Linked DNA regions of Homo sapiens: regions 1, 2, 4, 5, 6 and 7 are each linked to region 3. The links are contacts of gene promoters, found by promoter capture Hi-C in blood cells and fetal thymus (Javierre and others, 2016). All regions are on one chromosome and are shown on one strand. Each heading gives the region's core, a stretch centred on a gene start or on the middle of the fragment in contact. The rest is flanking DNA. Distances are from core to core; before and after follow the strand shown. Region 1 holds the start of LIMCH1-AS1 (LIMCH1 antisense RNA 1). Region 2 overlaps LIMCH1 (LIM and calponin homology domains 1). Region 3 holds the start of UCHL1 (ubiquitin C-terminal hydrolase L1). Region 4 overlaps LIMCH1 (LIM and calponin homology domains 1). Region 5 overlaps LIMCH1 (LIM and calponin homology domains 1). Region 6 has its middle 18 kb from the start of LIMCH1-AS1. Region 7 overlaps APBB2 (amyloid beta precursor protein binding family B member 2).

What was found. The method cuts DNA at HindIII sites, captures the fragments that hold promoters and counts their contacts. A CHiCAGO score of 5 or more calls a contact.
Region 1: a contact is called between the fragment with the promoter of LIMCH1-AS1 here and the fragment with the promoter of UCHL1 in region 3, in 7 of 17 cell types (monocytes, megakaryocytes, endothelial precursors and 4 more). The highest score is 10.5, in monocytes.
Region 2: a contact is called between a fragment that was not itself captured here and the fragment with the promoter of UCHL1 in region 3, in 8 of 17 cell types (M2 macrophages, monocytes, megakaryocytes and 5 more). The highest score is 12.3, in M2 macrophages.
Region 4: a fragment that was not itself captured here is called in contact with the fragment with the promoter of UCHL1 in region 3 in 7 of 17 cell types (megakaryocytes, M0 macrophages, M2 macrophages and 4 more); the score reaches 12.4 in megakaryocytes.
Region 5: a contact is called between a fragment that was not itself captured here and the fragment with the promoter of UCHL1 in region 3, in 3 of 17 cell types (monocytes, M0 macrophages and megakaryocytes). The highest score is 6.4, in monocytes.
Region 6: a fragment that was not itself captured here is called in contact with the fragment with the promoter of UCHL1 in region 3 in 1 of 17 cell types (monocytes); the score reaches 5.7 in monocytes.
Region 7: a contact is called between a fragment that was not itself captured here and the fragment with the promoter of UCHL1 in region 3, in 2 of 17 cell types (M0 macrophages and endothelial precursors). The highest score is 7.8, in M0 macrophages.

Annotation. Positions count from the first base shown.
Region 1 is chr4:41,691,289-41,694,196 of GRCh38, forward strand. LIMCH1-AS1 (LIMCH1 antisense RNA 1) reads right to left here and starts at 1,509. Exons shown (of 3, transcript XR_002959789.2): 1 at 1,254-1,509. LIMCH1 (LIM and calponin homology domains 1) reads left to right here. Exons shown (of 32, transcript NM_001330672.2): 31 at 994-1,096. The HindIII fragment of the contact is 18,346 bases long and covers 1-2,908 here.
Region 2 is chr4:41,661,072-41,664,142 of GRCh38, forward strand. LIMCH1 (LIM and calponin homology domains 1) reads left to right here. Exons shown (of 32, transcript NM_001330672.2): 19 at 349-439; 20 at 1,750-1,913. Among named protein-coding and RNA genes, the nearest start is that of LIMCH1-AS1, 30 kb to the right of the region's middle. The HindIII fragment of the contact is 9,051 bases long and covers 1-3,071 here.
Region 3 is chr4:41,255,053-41,258,308 of GRCh38, forward strand. UCHL1 (ubiquitin C-terminal hydrolase L1) reads left to right here and starts at 1,876. Exons shown (of 9, transcript NM_004181.5): 1 at 1,876-1,957; 2 at 2,063-2,074; 3 at 2,557-2,685. The coding sequence starts at 1,925. UCHL1-DT (UCHL1 divergent transcript) reads right to left here and starts at 1,675. Exons shown (of 3, transcript NR_102709.1): 1 at 1,507-1,675. RefSeq lists a silencer at 1,992-2,751 and an enhancer at 2,586-3,086. The HindIII fragment of the contact is 2,127 bases long and covers 1,129-3,255 here.
Region 4 is chr4:41,643,428-41,646,729 of GRCh38, forward strand. LIMCH1 (LIM and calponin homology domains 1) reads left to right here. Exons shown (of 32, transcript NM_001330672.2): 15 at 1,073-1,199; 16 at 2,696-2,853; 17 at 3,058-3,302. Among named protein-coding and RNA genes, the nearest start is that of LIMCH1-AS1, 48 kb to the right of the region's middle. The HindIII fragment of the contact is 578 bases long and covers 1,420-1,997 here.
Region 5 is chr4:41,627,158-41,630,204 of GRCh38, forward strand. LIMCH1 (LIM and calponin homology domains 1) reads left to right here. Exons shown (of 32, transcript NM_001330672.2): 9 at 2,335-2,577. Among named protein-coding and RNA genes, the nearest start is that of LIMCH1-AS1, 64 kb to the right of the region's middle. The HindIII fragment of the contact is 4,189 bases long and covers 1-3,047 here.
Region 6 is chr4:41,708,671-41,711,996 of GRCh38, forward strand. No RefSeq gene overlaps it. Among named protein-coding and RNA genes, the nearest start is that of LIMCH1-AS1, 18 kb to the left of the region's middle. The HindIII fragment of the contact is 513 bases long and covers 1,142-1,654 here.
Region 7 is chr4:40,923,038-40,926,105 of GRCh38, forward strand. All of the region lies in intron 10 of APBB2 (amyloid beta precursor protein binding family B member 2), which reads right to left. Among named protein-coding and RNA genes, the nearest start is that of NSUN7, 170 kb to the left of the region's middle. RefSeq lists a silencer at 795-1,089. The HindIII fragment of the contact is 861 bases long and covers 1,060-1,920 here.

The DNA of each region.
Region 1 (2,908 bases), core at 259-2,758, 440 kb after region 3:
CTGCAAGAGGCTGGCACCCACACCAACTTCCACTGCCTTTCTACCCTTCTGGTACAAACATCCAAGTATATCCTACAGTCTCTTTCTGCACTCAGCCTGTGTTGGTGGAAATTCCCAGTGGATTTGTTGCTCTGAATATCACTGCTTTTAATGTGGAAATATAAAATGGAACAGCAGGCTGGGCACGGTGGCTCATGCCTGTAATCCCAGCACTTTGGGAGGCCAAGGTGGGCAGATAACCTGAGGTCAGAAGTTCGAGACCAGCCTGGCCAACATGGTGAAACTCCATCTTTACTAAAAATACAAAAAAAAAAAAAAAAAAAAAATAGCCAGGCGTGGTGGCACACGCCTGTAATCCCATCTACTCAGGAGGCTGAGGCAGGAGAATTGCTTGAGCCCAGGAAGTGGAGGTTGCAGTGAGCTGAGATCATGCCATTGCACTCCAGCCTGGCCTACAGAGCGAGACACTGTCTTAAAAAATAAATAAAATAAACAAATGGAACAGGTACTTCCTAGAAATTTTGATCTGGTAGAACTTAGCAACGATGCTGGCAAGCCTTTAAAGATTATTGATGGACACATTTCAATTGATAACTCATTGGCCATGTGTTTATTTAAAGCCACTAGGGTTTAATGTGTTTAAAATGGTTCTTCCATTTTGATTGAGAAACGGTGTATGATAGAGGTTAAGACGCTAGGCTTTGGAGTCAACCTGCTACCACTTATCAGCTCCACAACCTAGGAACAAGCCAACAAACCTCACTGAACCAGTGTCCTTCTCTGTAAAATGCAAGGAATTAAGCTAAAATTGCTAACTGTATATTTGCTTTTGCTGTAAGTTGACACTGGTGCAGCATCTTACACATAATAGATGCTCCACAAATGTGGTGATTGTAGAAGGGATTATTGTGCTATTCACATAAACAGTAACTAAGCATTAGAAAGAAACAATTCCTTATGCATCTTATGATGTCTGTTCTTTTTACCCTATAGTGTGGAATTTGTAAAGGCCAGCTTGGAGATGCAGTGAGTGGGACGGATGTTAGGATTCGAAATGGTCTCCTGAACTGTAATGATTGCTACATGCGATCCAGAAGTAAGTACTGGGGAGAATGCCTCATGATGACCGAGTGTAATCGTATGTCTTCCATAGGACCCAATTTAGGAATTCAAATATTTTTCCCCAGCCGTTGACACTCTAATCTGAGAGAAAGGTTTCTTAACATCTAGGTTAAAAAAGAAAAGATATTTACCACTCGTTTCTTCCTGGAAGTTATTGCTACAATGTGGACCAATTCTTTTTATCCTGAAGTGCATCAGCACACCAGCAGGTCAAAACATTGCCTGAGCTCACTACAGAGATTTTGGTGTGATAGAAAGGAGATATAAGGTCTGTCAAACACTGTCACTTGTTCAGGCATGTCTTTAGACGACTGGCACCATTTGGGGATGGTTAAATGTGGAGAGCGGCTCTCCACTGTTTCTCAGATCGAGCACCAACTCATCAATGTCTCCACGCCCTACATTCAGGAGTTTCATTACGTCATATGTGTTCCCAACTGAATGGAAAGTTCCTTGAGAGACAACAATGAGGGTTCCACTTCTCTGTGGATTCTTCCCCACCTCCCACCTCTACAATATCTTAGTAACAATATGCGCTTAACAAATTATTTGCTGCCTTAGTAAGTGAGAAGCCTGCTTGCTTTCCCGTCTTGCATCCGGGCCTCCTACTGTGGAAGGTGCATGTTAGTTTGCGGGGCAGCAGGGGGTGCTGTTGCCTAGCCGCTGTTTAGAAAATCTGAAAATGGCCAGTGGCTTGCCTCGGAATGTTTCCTCATTCTCCATCATGAGTACAGTCCTTCTGGTGGGTCACCTAGACAGCAGAAGACCTTTTAGTGCAGATTCATCAGTCAGAAACTCTTTTAAAAAATTGGAGTGAAGATAGGGAGTGTGAAATTCAAGAATGACTATTTCTCAAAGTGAAGTCACGTTTTTACTGCCTTTTTACATGGATCTCAAATCTCTGCAAGACTGAAAACTTTGAGAATAAAAATTGAAGGTAATTTGTTTTATAGCTATAGATTTAGTAAATTCAGTTAAATATGCCTATTAATAAAATGGGAAATAAAAATTTAATCAAACCCAGGTAGTTTAGATTTATAATAAATATTTGACTTGAGATCAAAACAGTTCCAACTTAGAGCCGCTGCTATCAAACTGGACTATTTAGATCATGCATGATATTAGTTTTTATACTATGTATTTTATATATTAAATTATATAAATAGTATACCATATATCATAAATATATACACACAAATTAACATATATAGTACATGTATAATAGGTAATAATTATATACATTTTATTTAAACTGGACTTTTGCTTTTATATGCTAACAAGGAAAACAACTCTTTTCTCCCAGATTTCAATGCGAATTTTCCTATCGTCTTCTATAAATTATTCTTTTTCTCTACCTCAGTGAACCACAGTGAATGTAATTTATGGAACCAGAAGAGGGCACTGTTAGGTTGAAGGACTGCTCAGAAAGATTTGAAAAGTGCTGTAGATCTGAGTTTGTTTAATAATTTAAAGTGCTTGAAGGATGCCAACAGAACAACCTGAACCCCCCTCTGGGTGACAGTGACCTCTTTTCATCTAGATTTTTTTAAATTGAGAGGTTGGGTGATTCTTTGTCATTTCTTTTGGAAATTAGCTTTTTAATTCAAGACCAGGAATTTTTCTCTTAAATATACAAATATAAAGGGCATTAACTGCTTTTAATTTCAAAACCATGGAGTTCCTGTAATCAGCTGAAAAATAAGAAAGTGATTTGGAGGTAGGCCACAAAAATGATTTTTTCTTTATTTTATATGTGAAATGCAGTGTTTTACCAGGATTTACCATA
Region 2 (3,071 bases), core at 411-2,910, 410 kb after region 3:
ACTTCACTGGTGTTATGACCCTAAGCCAGCTTGAAAGGCTTTCAAGAACAAGTAGGTGATAGCCATGATTTTGAGCTTTTGGTGGTGAAAGAAAAGAAAATGTGGGATGTGCGTCCAAGGCAGTCATAGGAGGTTTGGTGAGATGGTGAACCGCATGGGTGTCCTGTTCTCCATAGAATGTCTCCTTCCAACCAATCCAGGCTCTCGCCATGAAGCTGCCTGGGAAGTAGAAGAGGGAATTCATATGGCCAAACCACTTTGTTGACCTAAAAATTACTGCTTAAAAAATAATTTTTAGAACTTTTAAAGGAATCATTTATTCAAGGGGGAAAAAAATCTCTTTTTCAGGCAACCACTGAGAAAACGGAACCGAATAGTCAAGAGGACAAGAATGATGGTGGAAAATCAAGAAAAGGGAATATAGAACTTGCCTCATCAGGTTTGTTTCATAAGAGACTAGTTTTAAGGCAAATCATGGTAACTGTTTAAGATGTAATGGAAATAGTCAAGAATTTTTCCTACTGAGCCACAGGAAAGTAGTAATTAGACTCCAGGAGTGGTGCGGTTGTGCTGCCACCTAGAGGCTTCCTGGGGAAGTTCTGCCCGTATGGTTAATGTTGCTGTGAAAATAGGAGCCCATGCTCTTTCTTAAAGCTACCCAGTTTTATTTTGTTTTTTAAAATATTTATCCCTATAATCATAAAGAATATTGTGTTCTTCCATATAAATCATGCTAAAAATTGAGGGTAGGATTTTGACACACAGTAACAGCAATAGATAAGCGAGAGGTCAAAAACATAAAAATAGACGCTGAAATGGTAAAGCTCACATATAGTTAAAAATGAATAAAATAGTGCCATGAATCTGGACAGTGAGTATAATATACTGTATTCGTTGTTTTAGGAAGAAGACCCTGTTCCCGAAAGTCTTGTTCCTCAATATTTTTTTGCAGCCTTATCAATATGTTTAACACTTTTCTTCTTTTGATAAACAGTAAAACCTCTCACCCTCTTTCAATACCAAATTATTATTTTTTATAAGGCCTTTCTCCAGTGTTTACCACTTGAGAAACATAATTTGTCAATTACCAAATTATTTTTAGGTAACATTTTTAAATAAATTAAATATCACTTAAAATAATAGCATTTACTTTTTCAAACTAGATTGTGCCTTCACATTTTGATATGCCCCCTTAGGTAGTGACTTTTCCACCCCTTCTAAAGTGAACCTAATTCTTCTTTATGTATCAGAGAACACTTTATTTTCATTGCATTATATACATATACCCCACAATCCGTAACACATTCCAATTAAGAAATTCTGATGTTAAAATGGAGCATTGAAATACAAAAAAAGGAAGCATCAGGTTGCTGCTCATTCACTGGGATAGAAACTACCTGTAGATGTTCTCTTATCTAGCCCAGCTGTCATAATTATATATTTCGTGTCAGCATTCTGTTCCATGTGGTGTTATTCAGATGTAAACCGTGACCCTTACTAAAAACTTAAGTTCTTCATAGTGTGGTTATAGGACGTGATTTGTGTTGCTTGTTGTTCAATACCATGAAAGAGCTTTGGGAATTCCAGCATCTTAGGCTCTTTTATATCTCTGAGCACACTGTCATTCAGCTTATATTGCCAGGACGGGATATGGACTGAATGTACTTCATGGCATTGCAGAATAAATGGTCCTATAGATATTTGATTTTCTTTTCCTTCTGTACGTTTCTGGATGTAACTCCATTGCAGAACCACAGCATTTTACAACAACTGTGACTCGATGCAGCCCGACCGTGGCCTTTGTGGAATTTCCCTCCAGCCCCCAGCTGAAGAATGATGTGTCGGAAGAAAAAGACCAGAAGAAACCAGAAAATGAAATGAGTGGAAAGGTGGAGTTGGTGCTGTCACAAAAGGTGAAGTGCAGAGTGGAGGAAAGCGGTTAAACCCACAAGTTAACATGGCCCCATATTACAGCTAGCTGCTGCTGTGGCAGTTGTGAATAATGAAGATTTATTTCTCTCCTCATCTTTTTTCCTATCTTTAATCTGTAGTTTTTCTTTTTCGTGTGTGTGTGTGTGTGTGTGTGTGTGTGTGTGTGTGTGATGGAGTTTTGCTCTTGTTGCCCAGGCTGGAGTGCAGCGGTGTGATCTCTGCTCACCACAACTTCTACCTCCTGGGTTCAAGTGATTCTCCTGCCTTAGGCTCCCGAGTAGCTGGGATTATAGGCGTCTGCCACCACGCCCAGCTAATTTTTATATTTTTAGTAGAGACGGGGTTTCACCATGTTGGCCAGGCTATTCTTTGTGGAAAAGTGTAATATAAGTTCTAAAGCCTTGCAGTTAGGTTTTAGTTTGCTGTGTGTGTTTGCTTATTTGCTTTTTAACCTGTCAGCTTACTGGCTAGTCTCTCTCCAATAATCATCTATTTGTTAGCCATGGTAATTCTGATGCCACTGGATTTGGATAACAAGAAACCTAGAAAATTATTATTCTGATATAATAGGTTTTAAAGTCTTGTTTTTATTAAAGTTTCTTCCTTGTTTAGAGTCTCATCTCATTCACATTAGTTTGATTTGTTTTCAGGTACAGAGTCTAAAAATATTCATCAGTTACACCAGTTGTTCGCAACCTTGATTACTCTTGGGAATTTAAAAAATAACAAGCTAGCTGGGTGTGGTGGCTCACAACTGTAATCCCAGCACTTTGGGAGGCCAGGGCAGGAGGATCACTTGAGCCCAGGAGTTCAAGACTAGCCTGGGCAACCCAGAAAGTCTTCATCTCTAAAAAAAAAAAAAAAAAAAAATAGTAATAATAATAATAGTTAGCCAGGCATGGTGGTGAGTGCCTGTAATTCCAGATACTGTGGAGGCTTAGGTGGGAGGATCACTTAGCCCAAGAGGTCAAGGCTGCTGTGAGCTGTGATTATACCACTGCACTCTAACCTGGGCGACACAGCTAGACCCCATCTCAAAAACAAACAAACAAAACAATCCAAGCCCATTCCAGACCAAATAAATTAGAATCTGTGGAGGCAGAGCCCAGGCATCTGTATTTTTTAAAGCTCCCAGGTAA
Region 3 (3,256 bases), core at 626-3,125:
ATTAGCCGGGTGTGGTGGCGGGCGCCTGTAGTCCCAGCTACTCCGGAGGCTGAGGCAGGAGAATGGCGTGAACCGGGGAGGCGGAGCTTGCAGTGAGCCGAGATCGCGCCACTGCACTCCAGCTTGGGCGACAGAGCGAGACTCCGTCTCAAAACAAAACAAACAAAACAAACAAACAAAAAAACGGCATGAGGGAAATTTCCATGTTTATTGTGTTCATCTTTGTATGCCTAATTCCAAACTTTCCAAGCTCGGCACCCAGCACACAGTAGGTTCTTAATATTTGTTGAGTGAATGAATAAATGAAGTAAATTGGAAATGTAATTTGTCTTTGTCTAAAGGCAAGAACTCATTCAATATAACCTAGTCACTTGTCTTGACCTTCACCTCTTTTTTTCTTTAACAACCTTATTGAGGGAAAATTTACATACCATAAGATTCACCCATTAAGCTCCTCTTACTAATTTTTTTCTCTCTCATTTTTGTGTGTGAAGGTCATTTTCTAATGGCAAAAATGGAAAGAAAATAGAAGTAGAATGTTGTGGAATCTTAGATAAAGAATGGGCTCTTGGAGCCCAGTTTAGCAGGGTTTACTTCTCAGTTTTACTTTTCAATTGTGACCGTAAGCAAATTAACTTCTCTAGGCCTGGGATTCTGATCTGTAAAATTGCACTAATATGAGTCTCTTCACGGCTCCTCTAAGGATTAAATGAGAGACACATGCAAAGGATCCCCAAAAACAATAACTCAAAAAATGTTGATTCCCTCCCTTCCCTCTGTCATCTGTTAACCTCAACTTCCTAAATAGAAGGTCTATTCTTTTACCATCATCATTATTCTCTTCGGTGCCTATTTTTAAAAAATACTCAACCTTCTTGCTTCCTTCGCTACCTAAGTATTTCTGCAAGCCCACTTTGTTCTGCAGCTTAGCTTTCCTGGCACAATTCTTATAGATTTTGGTCCCTTTTAAAATTCATTCTTCAGCAAATGCTTTCTCTCTCCATCTTTTGACTAGAGATCATTAGAGATCACCTGAGATCATTAGAGAACAGTGGTTTCCTTGGTTGCCATTCCCTTTCTTCTTCATTGGGAGTATTCTGCGGTGAACTCAGACATTTTATTTTTCAAAGCTTCCCATTCTTTTAAAAATGCTTTTCCTTTTACAGCCTCTCGCTCAAAATCATACCCATCTTTTCCCTGGATCTGTTTTCTCAAGTCTCCAATCGCCTGCCTTCTTTGTGTCTTGTATTACCCTCACATCCCCCAGCTTTCTACTGCTCTCCCAGGACCAACCATTTCTTCCGCGGGAGTCACATTACATCAGCATTCCTAATGCAGTATCTGTTATCTACCAGATTCTGTTTTATTCTAGGTAGTCACTTAAAAACGAACCTCGGTACTGGTCTGACTTAACATGGAGGAGGAATTGTCTAAGGTTAAACGCAAACTGCTGAGAGATTTGGGGCGGGGGGCACACATTTACATTCATTCGTATTAAATATATACCTGTTGAATTTGTGCTTTTTCTCAAATGCTTCAGAGACTCGAGCTTTAGAGTAATTGGGATGGTGAAAGGATGGGTTTCCAGAAACTTCGCCCAAAATTAAAGACTCCATCAAAAGGACTGCTCCATACACTCAAGGAACACCCACCAACAAATCCCGTCTCCACAACCACCAGATTATCTCACCGGCGAGTGAGACTGCAAGGTTTGGGGGCCCGGCCGTACCACTCCGCGCTGCGCACGGGGGGTTCGTACCCATCTGGCCGCGACCGTCCGTTTCCCCCTCGCTTGGTTCTGCCCCTGCTCCCCCTGCACAGGCCTCACAGTGCGTCTGGCCGGCGCTTTATAGCTGCAGCCTGGGCGGCTCCGCTAGCTGTTTTTCGTCTTCCCTAGGCTATTTCTGCCGGGCGCTCCGCGAAGATGCAGCTCAAGCCGATGGAGATCAACCCCGAGGTGAGCGCCAGGTGCACCGCTACCCGGAGAGCGCGAGGCCGAGGGAGGGGGAGCCGAGTCGCTGATCGGTTCGGTTTTGCCTTTTTCTTTGCATTTGCCTTTCAGATGCTGAACAAAGTGAGTGGCGTCTCGCGCCGTCTCTGGCCCCCTCCCCCGCGAGCGCCGAGGCGGGGGCGCCCACCGGTTCCGGCTGCTGGCAGGGACCAAGCCGCCCGCTGCGAGCACCGGAGACGGCCGGGCTGGGGCGTGGGCTGGGCGCCTTTCCTGGGCCCCTGCATTTAGCGGGTGACTCTACGAAACCGGTCACGGGGAGACGGAGGGGGCTGCGCCCCGTGGCGAGCGAGCGCCAGGCGGAGCTCCCGAGGGCGTGGCGCGGGCAGCACAGACTCGGCTGCACGGGCTTCGCGGGCGCCACGTGTGGGCCGCGCTTTGTGCTGTGTCATTGCGCCGGCCCGGGTGGGGGTGGCAGGGCGGGACTGGGGCTCCTCCCAGGCTCGGGTGCGGGCGCGGAGGGCGCGCGCCTCCTGGCCCCGCCCCCTGGCAGGTGCCCGCGACCCGCGTGTCCCCGTGCGCCTGGCCGCCTTGTCTCCTCTCCGCAGGTGCTGTCCCGGCTGGGGGTCGCCGGCCAGTGGCGCTTCGTGGACGTGCTGGGGCTGGAAGAGGAGTCTCTGGGCTCGGTGCCAGCGCCTGCCTGCGCGCTGCTGCTGCTGTTTCCCCTCACGGCCCAGGTAGGGCGTGGGGCCCAGGATGCGCCGGCCGCCGGCAGTGCACGCCGCTCCCCAGCTTGAGTCCTCGGGGGCTCCCCGCCCCGCCCCCTCCCCTGTAGGTGATGCGGGGCGCGCCTACAAGGAAGGGAGGAGCCTGCATTTTCGTGGTACCTACTCCCTGGGCTCCTGTTCCAGCGGTGCCTGTCGCCTTCTTGCCCATCCGTCCACAATTGCCTTAAATTTGGAAGAGAGGCAGTATCTCAGTTCCATCTATCCCGTTATCCAGGGAAATCATTCATCCTACTCATGAGTTCCCTCGAACTTGGGCTTTTTCGAGCCTCCGGTTCCGGGGAATGGCTGCTGGTTTCCCTTTAAGGGCTATAACCTGTCAACTCATTGTTTGCTTCTCAGACTCCCACCTAGCTGTAGAATGGAGGGGGAAGGGCTGACCTAAATCGCAGGGAAACAATTAGGTTCGCTAATTCTCCGCCTCCATTACTTGGGTTTCTGATGGTCTTAAGGGGTTCTTCTCTCTTCTCCACTCCCACCACTTGCACACTTGGTTTTTAGCCTCTTGAATGTATTTCTTAAA
Region 4 (3,302 bases), core at 459-2,958, 390 kb after region 3:
GCTCCATAGCCCACTTGTCCCAAAGTGAGTCATTTCTTTGAAAGAAAAATAAAAGGAGGAGGATTTTGCTTTGGTTTCTATTTCTGTTTTCATCTTGCTGCTTCAGCTTTTGCTGTAACAAAGGTTTATGTAAGCATCACAAAAAAGGCCCTATGGTCTTGCACAACATTTAATAAGCTCCTATAAAACATATAAATTATATGTATGCACAGTCTAAGAGTTTTTTAAAGACTGATTTCCCTTGCATTTTTCTTTTAAAAGAGATATTCAGAGTTATCCTGACAAAAATTAAATGACTGTGTGCATATTAGAATACAAAATATATACCTAATTTATGTGTTTTACTCCTTACTCTTGTTATAAAATGCCTTGTTTTCTTGATTCCAAGATGCCATCAACTGCACTATCAATTACAGCAGTTTTACAAGAAATAAAAAGAAATGATTACAATGAACATATACATCAGCCATCCATAGTTGTCAGATGCATCTAAAATTCAATAAAATAAAATAAGAAAAAGTGAGTGTCTTAAACTTAAGGCCAAATGATATTTTTTTGGAAATGGAGAAATTGCCTCCATTCACATAGGAAGCCTTTAAGCCAGCTTTCTACACAAAGAAGCATTTAACGTAATACAGTTTTACTTCATGGAACACCGCCCTCTTTCCCCACAAATTCTACCCAGGTTATACCTTTTAATTATCTTAATTTTATTTTTTAAATGCATTTCCAAGTGAGAGGAGCCTGGGGCTTCAAATACCATTTTTCTAGCTCTTCTTTAAACCTATTTTGGCACCTACATATAAAATGATATTGACCCGATTCAGTGACATCACTGAAGACAAAGACGGTCACATTTTGGCGTTTGCGGCAAAAGGAGGCGGTGGGGTGCCAGCACGCCCACCGCCCGCCCAGGGCCAGAACACACCGCCAGTCACGCGCTGTGCGCAGCCCGGGAAGGGGGCAGTTTTCCAAGCCCGGTAGCGCCCCCACGCGGCAGGACGCCCAGGCGCGCGGAGACGCGACGGGCGCTGATCGCGGTCCCTCTTGTGTTCGCTCTCTCCACACTCAGGAGCACCAGCATGTTTGACATGCGGTGTGAGGAGGAGGCCGCGGTGCAGCCGCACAGCAGGGCCCGCCAGGAGCAGCTGCAGCTGATAAATAACCAGCTGAGGGAAGAGGACGACAAATGGCAAGATGTGAGTTGTGGCCAAGGCGCGCGGGCAGCGGGGAGGCTTCTGGCAGCAGAAAATCCAGCCGGGTGGGTAGACGTGGACTTGAAAGCCATGCGGGGAAAGGGAGCCCCTAGAGGGTTTCAAAAGGTGACACGGTAAATGTGGGACTCAAAGGAAGGTGAGTAGCAGCGTGAAGGTATGGAGTGATGGCCCAGACATGTAATCAGCAAACACCCTGGCCAGAAGCTTGGTCACAAAAGAGGGGAGGGGAGGCAGGAAACTGGGATGGGTTGTAGAATTGAGGCTGCACTATCTTCTGAGGTTATATATTTCAAATTGATCATGATGATGATGGTAGTAACGATAACAATGACCAACATCAAATGTGTACCAGTACCAGGCATTGTTCTAAGTACTTTGCATGCATTCATTTAATCCTCTTAGTAACTCAATGAACTAGCAACTCTTATTGTCCTCGATTCCACAGACGAATCCCAGCACAGCTGTCACTTGCTGAACGTCACATAGCTAGCGAGTGGGGGAGCCAGGATTAGAACCAGGGAAGGAAGGCTAAAGAGGCTGATGAGGGCTTTGAGATTGTGTGCTGAGAGCCAAAGCGGGGAGAGAGGAGGGAGAGTGGATTATTTCATTTAATTCTCACAAAGCACTCTGGAGGTAGCTATTGCAAACTTGACTCCACCTTTAGTTTAAAAAGTTAACTTCTCCAAAGTTCATAAAATATAGTAACAATTATGTCTAAAGTATCTTGAGCACTTACTATGTGCCTGGCACCTTACGTCTATTTTCACATTTAACCCTGCAAGCTTGTAAGAATAGGTGCTATTATCATCATTTTAGAGAGGAGGAAATGGAGGCACAGGGAGACTAAGAAACATGCCTGAGATTCCAAAGCATGGAAAAGACAGAGCTGGGATTATTTCCCACAGCTGCAACCCCAACCATCTGCCTCCAGAATCCTCACTCTTCATCATTATGCTATAACTACCTGTAGGATTGTGGTGAGGTTGTTGTAAGGATCAGATGAATTAATACATATAGAATCACCAGATCTAAAGACTCCAAAACAGTTTTTTTTCTGCCTTGACTGCCTTCCATGTGGAAACTGTAAATGAATCCCTACTATTCTATTGTCAGCAAATCTGTTCACAATGCAGAGGTTATAAATAGGAAGGAATGAAGTTTCTTACAGTTACCTTGTGAGGCAATTCTCTGAAATTTGGCAACTGACATGAAATGTGATTGCATATTTCACACTGCCATATTTAAATAAATGTGCAGCCCTGCTATGGATACTGTAGATAATATCTGGATGTTTCTGCCTTTGAGGCATTCCAGTTCCAACCAGACTTACATTGGATTGTGTGGGAATGCACACGATGTTATAGTGCCTGGGCCCATAGTCAGTTCTCTAAAGAGTAGAAATGACTAAACTCTGAAGAATAGAAATGGAATTATGCACAAGTCTGAAGAAGAATATTATATCTTTCTTTCCCTGCCAGGACCTGGCTCGTTGGAAGAGTCGTAGAAGAAGTGTTTCTCAGGACTTAATCAAGAAAGAGGAAGAAAGGAAAAAAATGGAGAAGTTACTGGCTGGAGAAGATGGGACAAGTGAACGAAGGAAAAGCATCAAAACCTACAGAGAAATTGTTCAAGAAAAGTGAGTTCTTTCTGTTGTCGTTTTTAATGTACAATATTATCTAGGTGTTTTTTTTTTCTAAAAATTATTGGCTGTCACAAAGGTTCTGATAGTAACATTTTATATTCCCTGTACTATCTCTTCAGTGCTACCTTCGTTTCTACCAAGGTCTTCTTTGCAATTTTCATTAGTTGACTTTGTTATTGCTTCTCCCATGTCCTTTAGAGAGCGGAGAGAGAGAGAGCTGCATGAAGCATATAAGAACGCTCGGTCCCAGGAGGAGGCAGAGGGGATCCTTCAACAGTACATTGAGAGGTTCACCATCAGTGAGGCTGTTCTCGAACGCTTGGAGATGCCAAAAATTCTGGAAAGAAGCCATTCAACAGAGCCAAATTTATCCTCCTTCCTGAATGACCCCAATCCCATGAAATACCTGCGGCAACAGTCACTGCCTCCACCCAAATTCACTG
Region 5 (3,047 bases), core at 74-2,573, 370 kb after region 3:
ATGGGGGTTTATTTTGAAGCGGAACTTTAGATATTCAATCTCCCTTAAATGCAGATGGCAGACAGTAGAGTGTCCATGTCCAAAATAGGGCTGAATTTGCCAAAGAAACATTGAATTCCAGTGTGTAGATGTGCTGAATCAGGGCTCATCACCACATATGGGTGCTGGTGTCATCAGTTGGCATTATTAGCAAAAATAGACATGTACTATTGCCTATCAGAGAACAGCCACCTCTCACAGCTGCTCTAGTCCATTCAAAGGAAGCAGAAAAACGCTAAAAGCACTTCTCTCTTATTAGCTACATTTAGATGTTGGAAGAAAAAAAAATGAGACTTGTTCTTTCTTCTGTCACACCAGCAACATCACCTAGACAAATGATAATGGATATTTCCCATCAAAAACACTTCTCAAACTTATACTTCTATATGTTCTGTCATAGAAATTGTTTTCAAGCCAGTTTCCTTTTGCCAACATTTTCCCCGTCCTCTTAATACATGTTGGAGTGAATTGGGGACAGGAAAATTATAGTAAGATGGAATTTGACCAGTGATTTTTGTCCTGAGAGGGAGATATGATTTCATTTAGGGAACCTACTTGCTGAATTTCATCCTGCAGAGTTAATCATTCTTGTATTTTTCCTTATATCAAAATCAGCTAGAGTTAGCATCTACATTATTGAATTGTCATCTTTTTGCCCATCACTTTAGAGGTTTTTAAGCCTGTTGAACTTAGTATATAATTATCTCAGCTGTGCTTTAGACAATTAAAATGGTTCTTTAGGCAGAGTTGTTGAGCTCAGGGGAGTAGTTGGTCTTTTTGATTTTTCTTAGGAAGTACCAGATACAAAAACCCATGAGGGATTCCTGGATATAGAACAGGGATTCGATAAGAGAAAATCTGGCATCATTTCTTTACAGGACACATTATAGCTTCAGGAGGCCCTTGGTCTTTGCCATTGCTGTTGGCAGGCCTTGTAACAAACCATTCTTGGAGGGCCTTGTGGGAGGGATCAGTTGTGCAAGTGAAACAAAGACTTTTGGATAACTGACTAACATCAAGGCATATTGATGGCAATCAGCAATTTGAGTCAGGAAAAGGACTAGCCTTTGTATCTCCCTTGTTTCCTTTCTCCTCCATGTAATTTTAATTCCTGATATTTCCAGCTATATTTGTCTGTTGTCACCTGACTCTGTGTTTGCGGACGCAGTTCTGGGTCTGAAGCAGCCCTTGACCTCTCTAGACAGCATCAAAGAACTTATTAAAAAAAAAAAAAAAAAGAAGGGTCCCTAGTGCCTCTTTGCCATGCCCTTCCTTGATCTCCTTCCTCAAACTAAGAAAATTCTATAGCCTTTCTATTTTTATGGGCTGTGCAAGCATGCCAAATCATCAAGGTAACAAAAGACTACCTCTTGATTTTCCAGCTTGAATGATATATTTTGTGGGAAGATTAATAGGCTCTATTTATATATTTTTTGAGATTTTTCTATTTCAAGAAGCATATTTAGTTAGAAATAGACTTTTAATGGAATATTTATATATATAAATGCCACAGCTTTGGTTTAAATCGCAGTTTTGTCAACATTAGCCAGCTAAGGTTCACTTCATAGGAGAACAATGGAAAATATCAGTTTTAGCATCAATAAAGGTGAACGGTTATTAACACAAGAAACAAGTGGGTATTGACCCTGTCAATCCAGGTAAAGAGGAATACCCTCTGCTTTTCAAGTTTGCATTAGCCAAACCTGACTAATGCCATGAAGCAGACGTTGAGTTTAAACATTGAAACTTTCTGTTCAGAATTGACTTAGATGTACTTTCTGGCAGCTGTGGGTTTAGGTTTGAGATGTTTAATATGTGAACAATGTTCCAGCTATCTCCAAACTAATCCTAGAATTTGGATCATGCAGAGCTCATTATGAACATTTTACTAATGCAGTAAAAAACATTCCAAGAGGGCTAAGGGATTCATCAGAAAACCCGAATTCATTACAGTAACTTGAATAGTGTGGGAATTGGGCATCATTACCATCCAACCAAAATCTCATTACCATTAGTAATCTTTCAGCAGGCACGGCTTCTTTTCCTAAACTGTAGTTGAGACTGTCATCTGGAAGGGGAAAAAAACCTCTGTCTCATTCAGAGTTGTAATAAGGGTGGTATAGATGAAAGTCATCACAGCTCCCGTTGATTCCATTTTTGAGAAAGAGAAAAGTGTTTCCATCATTTTGTTCTGTCCTCAGCCTGTGAGTTTCCATGCTTGACATTCTCTTTGTCTGCTCCCCTTCCTTGAACTTGATTTTTCCATTGGTGTGGGGGCCCGGATCAAATGGACAGAAACCAGGGCCACACAGAAGAGGTGAAGTTGATAGTGACCTGTAACATGAGGGCTCAGGAAAGTGAACCTGTGGAAGGAGGACTCAGGAAGGTGCCAGATCTTCACAAGGATGACCTGGCCCAGCAGAGAATTCAGGGCAGCCTTGCCCCTCACCGCGAGCCCCCGAGCTTCATTACGCTCTCCAACATAACAGAAGCTGACTTGGAGACGTGGGAGAGACTCAAAGTGTCAGAAAAGGCGAGGTGTGTCATGTTTCCCCCCCAGTTTCCCCCTGGCAGTCATGGTATTTCATTTTGAAGGCATCAAATGCTTATCTTTGTGTCTTTTTTTTTTTTGTCAGGGTCTTGCTCTGTTGCCCAGGCTGGAATATAGTGGCTTGATCACAGTTCACTGTACCCTCGACTCCTGGGCTCAAGCAGTCCTCTCCCTCAGCCTCTTGAATAGCTGGGACTACAGGCCCATGCCACTATGCCTGGTTAATCTTTTGATTTTTTCTAGAGACAAGGTCTCACTATGCTGCCCATGCTGGTCTTGAACTCCTGGGCTCAAGGGATCCTCCCACCTCAGCTTCCCAAAGTCTTGGGATTACAGATGTGAGCCACTGCACCTGGCCAAAATTTTAATTAATTAATTAATTTTTTTAAATAGAGATGGGGTCTTGCTATGTTGCTCAGGCTGATCTCGAACACCTAGGGCTCCTGGGGCTCAAGTG
Region 6 (3,326 bases), core at 148-2,647, 450 kb after region 3:
ATGGTTTAATAAGTTTAAATATGGCTTGAGGATAGCATAGCCAGATTACAAGGCAAGAAAGGAAAACATCAAATTGGAATTAATGTATCATTGCTCTTAAAATCCACTGGCCATGTGTGTTCACAGGGAGTCATGTCCATCCTTCCTCCTTAGCTCCTGGCCTCTGGCCCGCTGCCACGTTGAGAGGCACACTTTTCCCAACTATAGTTTCCTTTTATTCTCTCTCTCCTCCCCTCGTTCCTCCACCCCTACCCCTAGGAGAGCACCCTTGTATTTAAACATGCTAAAGGAATCCAAATAATGCCAGCAAATATAACTATGATTTTTACAGCCAGCCCACAGCAAAGACAGCCTTTACCTTACTAAACACCTCAATTAACATCTCTGTCTAAAGAAGGAGCACAGACTCTGGAGTTGGGATGTCCAGGTTCACATCCCAGCTCCACCACTTACCATTTGTGACTTCAGGCAAGTTGTTTATCTTCTCTGTGTCTTGGTTTCCTCATCTGCAAAATGGGGATAATAGTAAAACATACCATATAGTGTTATTGTGAGGATTAAACAGGATCATGCATTTTAAATAGGACATATTTTAGTGTATATGGTAAACAGCCGTTTCTATTAGGATGACCATGCATTAGGACTAGTAACAATATAGTAAAAGTTGAGGTTGTGGAATTACATTACCAATATTCAGGGCTACAGTATGAAAAAAAACCTCTTGTTTAACTTGTATCAATATTACTGGATATGCTTATCAGAGTAACTCTTCTGAAAAGAGGGAATCTGCCCCTGAAATAAATTCTAGCCTATAGCATTAGGGCCACAAAGAATTTACAAATATTCTCAGAACCTCTGCAAAATAAATATGTACCAATCTGAAAAGAAAATATTGAATTAGATATGCCAAGATACTGACAGCAGTTATTTCTGATTAGTGTAATTATAGATTTTTAAAAATTTTTATCTGAACACTTCTGAGTGTTTTCTCCACACTGACCATCTACATGGCTTTTATAATATGGAAAAATAAGAACGTTACAAAAGAGGGAAGGAAAGCCTTCTTCTACATCCATACCAGATAAGACAGTTTCATAGAATTTGTTGAATTAACAAAACTCTGCAATGAAATGGTAGCCCAAGCTTGAATAAAGAGAACATTTATTTGAGTATTTAGTCCTGGGAGAGCCTGGCTATTGTACGGCCATGTTGCTGCTCTGTGAGTGGACTGTGAGCTTTTCAGCTGCTGCCTTTCAATATATATAATTAGAGTTCTGTTCCCATGGGGGAGAGACAGGTCTTAACATGAACTTCTAGTTGATACCAGACCCTCATCTCCATTTGCAGTTTACGTGTGTAGCATTTGTCCTCATCTTAAGAGTGAGTCATAAAAGTGCTTCAGTAAAATCTGACGTCAGTTGTCTAAAACCACAGTGTTACCACTCCCAAGTTTGTTATGGCCTCAATGTATTTACATAGCAGAAGGGACTTTAAGATCCAGTTAGAGGTTAATGGCAAATGTCCTCTGCCCTCAGAAATACAACAATGAAGATGAATCAGAGGCTTTTGATTTTGAATTAGACCTAACATTCTTGGAAAAATTTGCTTTTGGGTATTTATTCCATCCTATTACTCCTTGAAAAGAAAAGGGCAAAGCTTTTCCTTTTTTTTTTAGTTTTTTTTTTTTTGGTCACAGAATAGAATCCTGGGATACCTGATAACAAAGGCTGATGAACGGCAGGCAGATCATAAACTCACGCAAACATGGTAGTTGGACAGGGATGAACATTTTCCAAAGTGTGTTCCTCAGGGGCGTTGTATGAAATGCTCTTCAAGAAACGGATTCCATGTTTACACCTGAGTAAAAAGCACTGCATGTCCTTTTTCTTGGAGATATAGAAAGCATAGCAAAGGCCTACACAATTCTGCAGGAGCCTGTTTAAATTTGTTAAACTAACATCTTTGTCTAACTATATTTCATTAAGAAGCTCTATTCCAGACTCTTCTCAACATCTTCTAGCACTTAGGTTTCACAGTACACACTCTGAGAAACATTGACTGGACAATTAATACCTTTGGGAAATCACACAAATACCTTACCAACATGCAGACATGTTTTATTTTGTTTTGTTTTGGTTTTTGTTTAATTGTTAGACCTTTTTAAAATTCTTGATGGCCAGTCACAAGAATGGTAACAAAATCAGTTGGAGCTGGGCACAGTGGCTCACACCTGTAATTCTAGCACTTTGGGAGGCCAAGGTGGGCGGATTGGCTGAGCTCAGGAGTTCAAGACCAGCCTAGGCAACATGGCAAGACCCCATCTCTACTAAAGTATAAAAAAATTAGCCAGGCATGGTGGCACACACCTGTAGCCCCAGCTATTCAGGAGGCTGAAGCAGGAGAATCGCGTGAACCCGGAAGGCAGAGGTTGCAGTGAGCCGAAATCACACTCTAGCCTGGGCAACAGAGCACGACTCTGTCTCCAAAGATAAAAATTTAAGAATAATAATAAAATCAGTTGGGACTTGCATCTGGAACTATGACAGCAGGAAGTGGAGGATCAGGTGAGTTAAGGGCCAGGGAGCTATGGCTGAGAGTAAACATGGCTGAAACTCACTAGACCTCTTTATTCAAGATCTAATTCTCCTAAGAAATTTCCAGTGGAAAGTAGTGCTTTCATCAGGAACACTGTCAAGAATATGGTGCAAGCACTTAGGTTTCAGTGATGGAATAATAATACCCCCAAATAAGACTTGTATTGCAGTCAAGAGACAGAATATTGAAGAAAAGTAGTTTCCATATTTAACTTTCTTTCTCTCACCTTCCCTCAGCACTCAGGAGGGAAAGTGTCAAACCTCATATGCAAAAATCTCAGGCACTGCACCATGGGCAAATATTTCCATGGGGCTGGTGGGCCTCAGCTCATTTTATAAAACACATATCCACCTTAATCTGAATTTGAGAGAACGGGCAACTACCAGTGGGTTAGTACTGAAAAAGTGCCATCAGACAGTCTACCCTAATAGACGAAGTAAACAATAGAATACATTTCAGAAAGGTGGTGAAGGAACTCTCGTGAATTCTGATCTCCCTGGTTCTCTAGACTCAAGAGTCTACTCTAGTCTCAAGGATTATCTTGTTTTGTGTATCAAAAGAGTATTCTGGATAAAGAAAATGTGGTGCATATACACCATGGAATACTATACAGCCATAAAAAAGGAATGAGATCATGTCCTTTGCAGGGACATGGATGAAGCTAGAAGCCATAATCCTCAGCAAACTAACATGGGAACAGAAAACCAAACACCACATGTCCTCACTTATAA
Region 7 (3,068 bases), core at 240-2,739, 330 kb before region 3:
AATCTTGGCTCACTGCAAGCTCCGCCCTCCCAGGTTCACGCCATTCTCCTGCCTCAGCCTCCCGAGTAGCTGGGACTACAGGCGCCCGCCACCGCGCCCGGCTAATTTTTTGTATTTTTAGTAGAGACGGGGTTTCACCGTGTTAGCCAAGATGGTCTCGATCTCCTGACCTTGTGATCCGCCCGCCTCGGCCTCCCAAAGTGCTGGGATTACAGGCGTGAGCCACGGTCGTGCCCAGCCTCTCCATCAATTTTTAAACTGCAAATAAAGCAGAAATGTTTTCATCACTATCTAAATACCAGTATCTGGCATTAAGCTCTCAGGCAGCAAGCCTGAGAGAACAAGTTCTGAGACGTGCTGGCTCTTTTCCAGATGGCCTTGGAATGCCAGCTTCAGGACCCCCAGGTCTCGACCAGCTGGCCTTCCTGGAGCACCCAGACCTGCTGAATGGATGTCCCATGGCTACTCCTGCCCGAGGCTGTTCAGTTCTGTGATTATTCATGGCCCAAAATTCTGTGCCAAGAACCCACCAGGCCAGGTTCACACACCTGCCGCTCTGGTGCCATCAGGATGGCGGCTGCTGCCACCGCGGCTGGCTGGTGCCCATTTCCTCACCTGTTTCCTACCTCATTCCTTCAGGGGAAGAGGGAAGTCTGCCTTTCCTTCATTAGCTTTTCCAGGCATCTGCCCATCAGAGGGCGCAGCTGCCAAGAGTTAGACAACAATGCATCTTGTTTCAACAGCACCCTTCAAAACTCGGGGACTCACACACGGCTGCCAATTCCTCGACCGCTCATTCAGGCAAGTGTAGTGACCAGAAGTTAATAAGGGAAATAACACCGTGCTTCTGCCAGGAACACGGCATTATGCTTGGCCGAGTTGGCAAATAAAGGGAGGAAAACAGTTTTAGAAACACAAAAGCTGTCCTCCGGGATAGGAGGCAAAATGAGCAGCCAAGGCCAATGGCAGTGAGTGTCTGCACCACTCAACGGAAAAGCAGGATGGACAAGGGTCAGGGAGCCTGGCTTCGGGTCCTGCTCTGCCACGACCAGCTGTGCAAGCTTGGGCAGGTTACTTTCTCTGCGCCTTCTGCTTTTCCTAAGGCTGGAATGAGATGATCCTTATTTTCCCCTTGTGAATGCCAACCTAAAAGCCATGCATGAGAGGCTGAATCTCATTCAGCCAGGACTTGATATATCCATCACTGGCTCTGGACCTTGGTTTCGTGATTCAACCATGTTGCTATTTTCTGCCCTGTACTGAAGGCACTAATTTTGAATGACTGAAATGTGGGAATGACATGTTTGGCAGATTGTACCTCCCAAAGATGGCTGCATTAAAACCTCCCGTCCTATGCGCTCCTTGTAACGTGAACTTGCCACGTCTCATCAAGAAGTGGAGTCTGACAACTCTGAACAACAGAATACGGTGGAAGTGACATGCTGCCATTGCCAAGAAGAGCCTTTCCTCACCTGGTGGCTTCACCTTCCTGCTTCTTAGAAGCTGGACACCAGGTAAAAAGTACAACTGCCTACCCAGAGACCACACCATGAGAAGACCAAGCCACATGGAGAGGCCCTGGAGGACGTGAGGAGGAGCACTGAGCCAGGAAGCAGGTTGGAGAAGAAGCCATCTTTGAAGAGGATCCTCCAGCTCCGGCCGCCCCCATGTGGATCAGGCAGGAACTGCACCGCCAAACCCTCCCCAGACTCTGGAACCCACTAAATCCTGAGCAAAATAAATAATTGTTTTAAGCTACGAAGTTTTGGTGCAGTTTGCTACATAGCACGCAGGAACAGATAACAGAAACAATGTTATCCACAGTATTGGGCAAATACAGATGGACCTCATCTTAACAGATCTGTTCCTAAAAGCATTTGCTGAAAATGAACACAAATTTACATATCAAATCATTTTCAAAGCTTCCACACTTACATTTTTTGAAAAGTATGGTGGCGGGGGGAGAGGGAATCACTAACTCCAGTGACAATTCAAATATACTTATTAGCTAAGGTATCGTCTCCTTCTGGGAAACCACCCGAGCCACCCCTTTCAACCAGCCATGGAATATGCCCCCGGAACAACCCCCATTCGTGACTCAGTAGCTCAGCTCCTGGTACAGTGCATTGAATTTGCTTGTTTCTTCTCCATTACTTGAAGGCAGGGGCCATATCCATTCCTTCTGGTAGTAGGAACAGTATAATGGCGAATGCATAAAGAATGCTTATTATGTGCTAAGGACTGTTCCAAGACCTTTACATGTATATTTATAGTGTTTATAGTATGTCAATTCAATGTTTATAACAGCCATGTGAGGTTGGCTCCATCATTACCCTCATTTTGCAGATGAAGAAACTGAGGCACAGAGGGGGTAGGTAACTTGCCCAAGGTCATCCAGCTGGTAAGCAGCAGAGCCTGGCTTTAAACCCGGGCAGTCTGGGTCCAGAGTCCATGCTCTTAACCACACCATACATTAAGTATGTATGCTCCTTTCGCACTTAGCATTCAATAAACGTCTCTGACTCAATGAATGAATCAACAGTGCAAATCAAACCCAAACTTCCACACAGATCAGGATTTCTGAAAGAAACCTGTACCACGTGAATAAAAATCAATTATAAGAACTACATGCAGCTGTAACATCCCATATAAATGCTAAGTAATGACAATGAATTTGCTACACAGACCAGAAATAAATCTGAATGAGAAAAGGTACTTCCCTACTACTTCCTGCTTATCTATTAGTGCTAATCTAGTCAGTAGCTGCTAATATAATTACTTCATGAAAATCTATGCTAATAGGAACCAAGGGAGGGCACAGATAAATAAAGCTCACAGATGAATATTGGAATCTCATGTCCATTCGCCATTCAGTTCAGAAAGCTCCGTCAAACCTACTACCCGATGGTTTGTTTCATCTCCTTCCTCTTCCTCTCCATCTGAGGTAAGTTATAACAAAAGAGTAAGGAGGCACACAAAGCTTTCACAAAATCCAGTGCCAATAAAAAAAGTTCCTGAGCAGCTGCGAACTGGTTGCAAATGGCCATAAAAGAACTAGAAGATACTGC